Linked DNA regions of Homo sapiens: all the other regions are linked to region 3. Evidence: promoter capture Hi-C in human tissues and cell types (Jung and others, 2019). All regions are on one chromosome and are shown on one strand. Each heading gives the region's core, a stretch centred on a gene start or on the middle of the fragment in contact. The rest is flanking DNA. Distances are from core to core; before and after follow the strand shown. Region 1 overlaps C20orf203 (chromosome 20 open reading frame 203). Region 2 overlaps C20orf203 (chromosome 20 open reading frame 203). Region 3 holds the start of TM9SF4 (transmembrane 9 superfamily member 4).

Region 1 (3,598 bases), core at 495-2,994, 550 kb before region 3:
AACTATGAGGCTTCCTGTCCATGTGACTTTGGACAAGTCACTTGACCTCCCTGAGCCTTCACTGTCTCCTCTGTAAAATAGGGCCATTGAAAGGGTTTTGTGAGGCTCAGTGCTGATGGCCTAGCACAGTCAGTGCCTGGCAGGTCATGGGCACTCAGGGAGAAGCAGCCCCTCTTTTCGGCAGCAGCGTGGCCTCTCGAAGGTGTGAGCTCCCTGGCATGAGCTGGCCAACCGATTGACCAGTGAAAGGGCATGGAGTAAGCTCGGGCCTGGACTGGCTGAGGAGGCAGTTACAGATCCCCTGAAACCCTGGTTGCTGTTCCTGGCACCTTGGCCCTTGGCTCTGTCATTCAGTGTCCTTTCTCCTGCTGGGAAGGGCACATCCTGTGGCTGGGTGGCTCGGCTGGGAGATGGACCCAGATCCTCTGGAGAGCTGCCCCCCAACCTCCCTGCAATGGGAAAGGTGCTTACCGCACAGCCTCAGAGAGCTTCCCACTGGGCTGCCCTGTACAGGACAGGAGTAGCAACTGTGCCCCAGAGGTGTAGTCCCCATGTGGTCTGCTCCCTGGGCCTTTAAAATGGGGGGAAATAAAGTCAGAATGAAGACTTATAGATCTGCTGAGAAGAGCAAATGCGCTGGCATACAGGACAGCACACTGGCCACTGACACACACTCCCCAGGTTACAACACAACTGTGTTGATGTGGATGATGATGATGATGATGATGTTAATATAATACATTTGATATAATTATATGTCATAATAATTATTGCTATTATCTATTATTATTAATTGATATTACTAGTGCCAGCCACGGAGGTGGGGAGCATGCCCATGGCCCCTCACAGGTGAAAGAGGCTGCCTGGTATGGCAGCTGAGAGCACAGGCTCTGGCTTGCACCTCTTCCTGCCACACAGTCACTGTGGGACATGGACAAGTGGCCTTCCCCTCTCATTCTCAGAGTCCTCATCTGGGAAATGAGGGAAGGCACCCTTCCTGGGATCCTGGCAGAATTCACTGAGGTCCACCCATGAGGGGTCCAGCCAGGTCCAGTCTCAAAGATAGTGGCTGCTGCAGGCACCTCCACTTTGAGCACCTGGGTCCACTCATGTAGGTTCCCTGAGCCTCAGTTTGCTCATCTGTACAATGAAGATGGTGGTCCCACCCATCACTTCAGGTCATCAGGAGGAGGAAATAAAATGAATCAGGTACATCACCTAGCAGGACTGCCTGATGCGTAGAGAGTGTTCATTGAGCTGCGATAATGTTTTTGTGCTGGTAGTAGGCAGGATGAGAACCTGCCCCTAGCCCCAGGCCTCCTGCCCAGGGCTTCTCCTCCTTGGTGAATTGTACGGCCAGAAACAGGGTGACCTTCATCAAGCCAGGATTACATTCCCAGTGTCTTTGGAGTGTGGGGCAAGGGGGTCGGCTGTGCAGCAGCTGCACCAGCTGCCCTGAAAGAGAAGGGGTCTTAGGCCGGGCACGGTGGCTCATGCCTGTAGTCCCAGCACTTTAGGAGGCCAAGGCAGGTGGATCACTTGAGTTTGGGAGTTTGAGACCAGCCTGACCAACATGGAGAAACCCCATCTCTACTAAAAATACAAAAAATTAGCCAGGCGTGGTGGTGCATGCCTGTAGTCCCAGCTACTCGGGAGGCTGAGGCAAGAGAATCATTTGAACCCAGGAGGCGAAGGTTGTGGTGAGCCGAGATCACGCCATTGTACTCCAGCCTGGGCAACAAGAGCGAAACTCTGTTTAAAAAAAAAAAAAGAGAAGTGGGTCTGAGTCTCTGGGAAGCCGCAGTGGGGTCTAGGCCTTGAATCAGCCCTGGACGCCAAGGCCGGAGGACGCTGAGCCTTGGTCTTCTCCTGCTCCATCTCCCTGTAGCTCCAGTGTCATTCCCCACCTACCCTTTGTGCTCACACAATGTCAGGGCCAAAGGAATGCCTGCAACACAGCAAAAAGCTTTATTGTTTTTTCTGTCTGTAGAAGTGATTATTATCCATTGCAGTAACAAAAATTGGAAAATTCAGTAAAATATAAATTAAGAGTATCATAGATTGGGTGTGGTAGTTCACTCCTGTAATCCCAGCCCTTTGGGAGGCTGAGGTGGGAGGATTGCTTGAGCCCAGGAGTTTGGGGCCAGCCTGGGCAATATAGCAAGACCCCAGCTCTAAAAGAAAAAATTCAAAAATTAGCTGGGCATGGTAGTGTACATCTGTAGTCTCAGTTACTTGAGAGGATTCCTTGAGCCCAGGAGTTTGAGGCTGCAGTGAGCCGTGATCCTGCCACTGCACTCCAGCCTGGGTGAGAGTGAGCCCTGTTCTCCAAAAATAAAAAGAGTACCCTAAATCCTAAATTTCCAGGTATTTTTGTTATACACATATAGATACAGATTTTTTCATAAGAATGGAATCCTATTATGCTTGCTTCTTAAAAATCAGAATGCCAGGTGCCAGCTAATTTTTGTATTTTTGGTAGAGTTGGGGTTTCACCGTGTTGGCCAGGCTGGTCTTAAACTCCTGACCTCAGGTGATCCGCCCGTCTCGGCCTCCCAAAGTGCTGAGATACAGGCGTGAGCCACCGTGCCCAGCTGAAATTTTATCTTCTTAAAGTCTCTTAAGTACCTGTTTTAATCTGCATGCTTTCTTTTTCTTTCTTTCTTTCTTTTTTTTTTTTTAGGTTTGGGGGCGCACAGAGTCTAGCTCTGTTGCCCAGGCTGGAGTGCAGTGGCGCAATCTCAGCTGACTATAACCTCCACCTCCCAGGTTCAAGGGATTCTTCTGCCTCAGCCTCCTGAGTAACTGGGATTAGGGGTGCCCACCACCATGTCTGGCTAATTTTTATATTTTTAGTAGAGACGGGGTTTTGCCATATTGGCCAGGCTGGTCTCGAACTTCTGATATCAAGTGATCCTCCTGCCTTGGCCTCCCAAAGTGCTGGGATTACAGGCAGAAGCAACCTTGCCCAGCCTACAGGCTTATTTTTGAACCTGCTTTTTTTTTCTTTTGACTTGGTGGTATATCTTGGACCTCATCGATGTTAGTAAATGTGACGCCTTTTTATTTATTTTTAAAATTTTGTTTTAGAGATGAGGTCTCACTATGTTGCCCAGGCTGGTCTCAAACTCCTTTGTTGTTGTTGTTGTTGTTGTTGTTTTGGAGACAGAGTCTCGCTGTGTCGCCCAGGCTGTAGTGCAGTGGTGAGATCTCAGCTCACTGCAACCTCCTCTTCCTGAGTTCAAGTGATTCTCCTACCTCAGCCTCCCGAGTAGCTGGGATTACAGGTGCCTACCACCACGCCTGGCTAATTTTTGTATTTTTAGTAGAGACAGGGTATCACCATGTTGGCCAGCCTGGTCTGGAACTCTTGGCCTCAAGTGTTCCACTCGCCTCAGCCTCCCAAAGTGCTGGGATTACAGGTGTGAGCCACCATGGCCAGCCTCAGCTAATTTTTAATTTTTTTGTAGAGATGGGGTCTCACTGTGTTGCTCAGGCTGGTCCTGAACTCCTGGCCTCAGGTGATTCTCCCACCTCAGCCTCCCAAAGTGCTGGGATTACAGGTGTGAACCACTGTGTCTGGCCCCAGCATGATGTT
Region 2 (3,193 bases), core at 609-3,108, 520 kb before region 3:
TTTCGAAATAAGATATTGGAGGCGGGAAACAAATAGAAATAAATCCTGGGCCCTATAAAGCCCCTGGGGAAGAAAGAGGTAAGGCAGGTCCTTCCCCCAGCAGCTCACCATCCAGGCAAGTATCTGGGCATGCACACCCGTTGTTCAGTGGCAAGGGTGCTCGGTGTGCATGACCTCCCCAGTGGAAGGACCCTGAGGGGGGCCTGGGGGCTGGGGGAACTGTGCCAGATGGAGAGAGAAAGCAGAGGGCATTCAGACAGGAACGGCAGGAGTCAGAGCACGTGGGCTCACTGTACACGGGATGGGAGGACGACACGTCATTCCGGGTGGCTCCCTGGGGGTTTTTGCTGGGCTGGGAGGCATGGCTCAGGAGGATGCTGGAAAGAGAAGTTGTGGCCTCATGGAGTTGCCTCCTAGAATCTGTCTCTGAAAATGAAAATGTGAGACTGGCCCACCATTACAAAATCAGAGAACACAGGAATGTTTATTTTAGACAGGGTCTTGCTCTGTCACCTAGGCAAGCGATCCTCCCACCTCAGCCTCCCGAGTAGCTGGGACTACAGGCACACACCACCATGCCCAGCTAATTTTTGTATTTTGTAGAGACAAGGTATCCTCATGTCCAGGCTGGTCTTGAACTCCTGGGCTCAAGCAATCCCCCCACCTCAGCCTCCCAAAGTGCTGGGGTTACAGGCATGAGCCATGGTGCCCAGCCGAGGAAATGATTATTATTATTTATTTATTTTTCTTTCTGAGATGGAATCTCACTCTGTCACTCAGGCTGGAGTGCAGTGGTGCGATCTTGGCCTTCTGCAACCTCCATCTCCCGGGTTCAAGCAATTCTGCCTCAGCCTCCCGAGTAGCTGGGATTACAGGCATGTGCCACCATGCCTGGCTAATTTTTGTATTTTTTAGTAGAGATGGGGTTTCACCATGTTAGTCGGGCTGCTCTTGAACTCCTGACCTCATGATCTGCCTGCCTCGGCCTCCCAAAGTGTTGGGATTACAGGCATGAGCCACCGTGTCTGGCCCATTTTTATTTATTTATTTATTTTGAGACACGGTCTCACTCTATTCCCCAGACTGGAGTGCAGTGGCACAATCTTGTCTCACTGCAACCTCCGCCTCCCAGGTGATTCTCCTGCCTCAGCCTCCTGAGTAGCTGGGATTACAGGCATGCACCACCATGCCCGGCTAATTTTTGTATTTTTGGTAGAGACAGAGTTTTGCCACATGGGCCAGGCTGGTCTCAAATTCCTGGCCTCAAGTGATCCGCCCACCTTGGCCTCCCAAAGTGTTGGGATTACATGTGTGAGAGACCGCGTCTGGCTGAAATTATTTTTAAAAAGGAACTACAACCCCCAGGTTAGTCCATCACCAGAGATAACCACTGTGAAGCATTTGACACATTTCTTCCTAATATCATTTCATATATATATATATATGCATATGTAGGTCTCCTAATAAAAAATAGTTTGCCTCTTGCTGTCTTTTACCTACAGTTACATCAGATGCATTGTCTGGTGCCTTTAAGTAGTCTCTGAAATCTGACTCCTCAGCCTTTTGGATGACTCCAGCCGGTGGTGGCCCTTTGACAAGTGTGGCCCCTTCTCGTGGCTGGGCACAGAGGCTGTTTCACTCGTTTTCTGTGATAAAAACACCGCAGTAAACATCCTCCGTCCTGCGTAACTTCATGTCCACATTGCTGATTGTTTTGTTGTGTTTTTTTCTGATAAATTTCTGGACATGAAATTCTCGGAAGCCCTGCTGGGCCCGGAGCTGGCTAGGTACTCGGGAGGGTGCTGGGCTTCCTAGAGCCACGCGTCCACACCTGAGGACAGCTTGGACCCAGCTGTAAGGAACAACGTGCACTTCTTGAATGTCTCACGCTGTCTTCCACCGCTTTGTCCATGATGTCACAGTACCTCTCGCCTCCCCTCCCAATGCCTGTCTTGCTAATTCTTTCTTATCTTTCCAGACTCCAGCATAACCTTCTCCAGGAAGCTTTTCCAGAGCCCCCAGGCTAGGAACCTCCCCCCAACCCCTGAACTCAAGCCCCAGCAGCCCGTGCCTGCGCCATCTCCATCAGAGCTGCATCTCTCTGGGTCTCTGGGTAACAAGTGCCATTTCTTTGTTGTTTTCTGTGTCCCCCAAGGACAAAGCTCAGGCTGGATTCATCTCGGAATTCCCAACACCGGGGTAGAACTGGCTCATTTCAATTTCAGTCAATGTTTGTTGAGGAAAGGAGTGAAGAGTTGGACACATGAATGAACGCATGAAACAGTCCGGAGTGGGGAAGCTGAAGCTCAGGCATCAGGATCCGGGAGAAGCATCCAGTCCAGGCGGACGGGGTGGAAGGTTCAGAGCAGGGGCCCCAAGTCAGGAGTAGGGAGGCAGACGGCAAGACCTCCTTCCATGAAAGGAGGCTGGGACCAGGGGACCAGGTAGTGCAACGCGGTGAGGGGGCTGTCAGGGCGACTGGCCGGAGGAGTCAGAGGCAGGAGGCACCACCAGGTTACAGACAAGGACCTTCTACAAGAGGGAAACGTGTCATGGGCTCTGGAGCCCCTGTCCAGGTTCAAATTGTGACCCTGTGCCAGGGACAGCTTCTTTGTGCCTCAGTTTTTCCCATAAAATGAGGATAATAATACTTCATTCATGCCTTTTTTTCCCCTCAACAAACATTTGTTGTATGTCTGCTGTGGGCCCAGGACAGGAGGCTGAGAAGGAGCTGACCACAGTGGTCACACAGCCAAGCCCTGCTGCTGAGATCTGACCCCAGTTCGCCTGTCACAAGTTCTATCTGTGCCTCGTTGTCTGCCTCCTGGGGCTGTTATGAGGGCTGAAGAAGGGGCAGGCACAGAGGAGACACTTACTATATGATCATTGTCCTCCTAGAGTATCATCACCATCAGGTGGACTTCAGTGGCCATCCCAGGCCTCCACGGATCAACCACAAGATCTTGGAGAATGTCCTTACCCTCCAAGCCTCAGTTTACCTTTAGGGTGACCAACCATCCTGGTTTGTCCAAAACTGAGGGTTTTCCTGGCACAGTCCCAGGCAAACTGGGATGGTGAGTCACTGATATAGTTTGACTCTGTGTCCCCACCAAATCTCACCTTGAATTTTAATAATCCCTAGGTGTCAAGAGCAGGACCAAGTAGAGATAATTGAATAATGGTGGCAGTTTCC
Region 3 (3,342 bases), core at 314-2,813:
TGGTACCAGAATATATATACATATATGTAGGTTTCAACATACTACTTTGAGGATTTGCCCCACTCGTGGTTCAGCCTGAAGTCTGAAACCACAGAAACCAGGTAAGGCCATGAAATCTTTTTACCTGACCTCTGAAGTTCTAAATAAGGAATCCCTCATTAAACAAAGGTAAGTTCTCAGTCAGCTAAGAGAAGGAGGGAAAATTGCTACCAGTCAATAATATATCCCTGTTTGGAGAAAACCAACACCAAATTATTTAAGCCAGAATCTTCCTTTGCTAAAGTCAAATGTCATTTCCTTTTCTCTGAGTCTTCCTTGTCATTCACTCCCCGGACGAAATTATCTGCTGAGGAGGCAGTATGCAGGAAGACCCAGGAAATCATTCTGGACTAAGTGACTTCAATTTTAGTTCTGGTCTCTTGACAAGCAGAATTTGAACTAAACTTTTAGAAAAAGGGCCAGTCCTTCAAAGATTTACTTCCAAGGTTCTGCACCAGGAGCCCGCAAGCTCTGACCCAACTTCCAAGCATGGCTATTTTACCTCCACCCTCATCCACACACAGACTTCATCCCAACATATAGCTTCATAATAAAGAGCCTTCATCCCTAACGAGCTGTGTGGCCATGTTGGGGAATGGGAAGGAGAGCAGTGAGGTGGGGCTATTAGTGTTTTTCAAAACGTAGTTCACAGACCACCTCCACTATATAATCACTAGAGTGCTTATAAAAGGGCAGATTCCTGGGCATCACCTAGCCCTATGGAATTAGAATCTCTGGGAGTGGGGCTGCTCAGGAAACTGCATTTTTAGCATGCCTCCCCCTACACACCTCGAGATTCTTATGCACAGTAAAGTTTGAGAACCAACAGGGTAAAAGGTCCCTAAGAGAGGGGCAGGGAGTTGACTGAGAGAAGACAGGAAGGGCAGGGAAGCCTCTAGGGATGAAAGATGGGGGTGGGGTAGGTGAAGGCAAGCTCTGGGGTAGCGGCAGTCAAGGGGGTGCGCGATGGGGACAGCTATGAGTGTAAGTGAGGACAGGGCTCTGAAAAGGATCTGAGGCAGCGCTTGGGCTGGGAGGGTGGTCAGAGGAGAGGTCACATCTGCGGACTGGTTATGATGGTGGGGAGGCGGGGAGAGCAGGGTCTGGACGTGACGGGGAGGAGCAAGGATGAGAATAACGGGAGGGGGTCTTCAGAGGGGTCAGGACAGGGAGGTGAGAAATGGAAAATGGGGCTCACAGTGGGCGGAGACCAAAAGTAGAATGGGAACCGGCGAAGGCAGCAGCCGAGGTCTTCCTCCGAAACGGCGCCTCCCCCAAAACTCGGGGCCTTCACAAGCCTGAGTGCAGGGGCAGGGCCAGGGAGGTGGATTTCGGGGAAGACAAGCCCAGTCAGAGGTAGCCCTCAGGCCTGAGTCAGGGGTCCCGGAGGTGGCTCAGGGCCAGGCATGGGGTGCTGGAAGATCCTGGGATACCCCGGAGGGCCCCGCTCCAGCTCCCGCTCCCGGAGTCTCCTTCACTCACCATCGCCGTCGCCATCTTGGATCCACGTGTCGCCGTAATGACGTCAGCGGAAGTGGTGCTCCCTGGTTACGGAGTTTAACTCCACAAGGTGGTCGTCTGGCTTCAACCGCTCCTGTAGTGGCGGTCAGCAGAGGGGAAAAGGAGTCTTAGCTCCTGCTCGACAGTCTGGTCTGGGAAAGTAAGGTCGCTGATTAGGTGAAGAGAGAGAACGGTGTAACTAAGGAAGCCATATTAGCTCCTGGCAGAAACTGAGCCTCCCTTATTCCCGCTGCATTGTGGGTAATGGGGGTGTGCGAAAGTGCGCTCGTGCTCTCAGCGCCATCTTTACTACTGGCAGGAAGACCCATTGCCAGGGTTACCTGAGACCTTGATTTGAGGGAAAGGGTGGGCACTGGGGCTCCAAGAGCAGTACGACTCCAAGAATAATTTGTAATTATATATTTAAGTATTTGTTTGATTTTAAGTATTTGTTTGACTATCCTATATCCTCTTTAGTAGACTGTAATCCCCATGAGGGTGGACCCTGTTTTTTTGTTTGTTCGTTTTTTACCTTGCTCTTCCTCATTCCCATCTGTGAAATGGGAAGGGGGTTGGTTCATCATAGGCTTGTGATGAGGATTCAGTGACACAGTATTACATAGGATGTATTCAATAAATAATTGTCAGTATATGTTTATGTATACTCCTTTGGGCTTGTGGTAGATGCCCAATACATTATTTTTTAAATGAACGAGTGAAAACCAGCATATTCAGTGGAGGGAGATATCTCTGAATGTGGACGTCATGCACTAGCTTAGTGTGTGACTCCAGACAAGTCACGCAATCTTCCTAAGCCTCAGTTTCCAAATCTGTGAAAAAGAGACTCAAAGAATCATGGTATTAAGGTTGGGAAAGAACTCAAAGTTCATTTGACCCATGTATATCACTTTAAACTGAATACAGTACCAGTGCTATCTTAGACTGTTTTAAAAAAGCTATTAAAAGAATAATAATGATTAATAATAATCATCAGCACTTGCCGAGCATTTTGTGTGCTGCAGCACTTAGCATTATGCTAACAGTTCATTAGACTCTTTTTATCTAATTCTAGGGGGCAAGGGACAGTTGAACTCTGATCCCCACCTATGGGCACCACTGTGGTGGATTTTCTGCAAAGATGGCTGCCACGTAGTTCTGTCCGTCCTTGCATGATGAGCATACGGTTTCTCTCCTCAAGAGATAGACTCTGTTTTACCTCCTGTTGAATCTGGCTGGTCATGTTGGTTGCTTTGACCAATAGGATGTGCTACAAGTGATTCTGCCAGTACTGAGCCTAGGCCTTAAGAGGATTGAAAACGTCTGATTCTACCTTCTTGGTTATAAAGAAGTGTAGCTACTCTGCTGGAAAGGCACCTGGAGAGAGAGGGAGGCCCAGCCAACTCCTCAAGACATTCTAGAAACTACAGCTAAGCACTATAATATGTAACTGAAGTCATCTTGGACATTCCAACCCCCACTGAGCTACTAGCTGAATGCAGCTACATGAATAACCTCATGAACACCATGTGGACCAAAAGAACTGCCCAGCTAAGCCCAGCTTTAGAGTGGGGTGGTTTATTATAGATCATTTCAGTAATAGATCATTGAAACACACACCCATTAACTCTTGTGACCTGCACAACCATCCTGAAGATTGGCAGATTGGCTATTAACCCCAAGGAGGAGGAAGCTTGAGAGACTAGGGGGAATTTGCTGCAGTCTCATAGTTTCCAGACTTGGAACCAGTTTTCCTAGAGCTTCGATCCTGAGTGTTTCCCACCATTTCTAGCTGCCTGAAGAAAG

The links. Contacts are between HindIII fragments. The study calls those that stand out against the background at their distance.
Region 1: a fragment that was not itself captured here is called in contact with the fragment with the promoter of TM9SF4 in region 3 in 1 of the 25 tissues and cell types used here (stomach).
Region 2: a contact is called between a fragment that was not itself captured here and the fragment with the promoter of TM9SF4 in region 3, in 1 of the 25 tissues and cell types used here (lymphoblastoid cells).

What each region holds. Positions count from the first base shown.
Region 1 is chr20:32,657,054-32,660,651 of GRCh38, reverse strand. The region is part of intron 1 of C20orf203 (chromosome 20 open reading frame 203); the gene reads left to right. Among named protein-coding and RNA genes, the nearest start is that of C20orf203, 15 kb to the left of the region's middle. The HindIII fragment of the contact is 3,050 bases long and covers 220-3,269 here.
Region 2 is chr20:32,633,056-32,636,248 of GRCh38, reverse strand. C20orf203 (chromosome 20 open reading frame 203) reads left to right here. Exons shown (of 6, transcript NM_182584.4): 6 at 1,979-3,193. Among named protein-coding and RNA genes, the nearest start is that of C20orf203, 39 kb to the left of the region's middle. The HindIII fragment of the contact is 6,401 bases long and covers 1-3,193 here.
Region 3 is chr20:32,107,935-32,111,276 of GRCh38, reverse strand. TM9SF4 (transmembrane 9 superfamily member 4) reads right to left here and starts at 1,563. Exons shown (of 18, transcript NM_014742.4): 1 at 1,522-1,563. The coding sequence starts at 1,536. RefSeq lists enhancers at 557-1,299, 1,463-1,642, 1,300-2,044, 1,047-2,246. The HindIII fragment of the contact is 9,910 bases long and covers 1-3,342 here.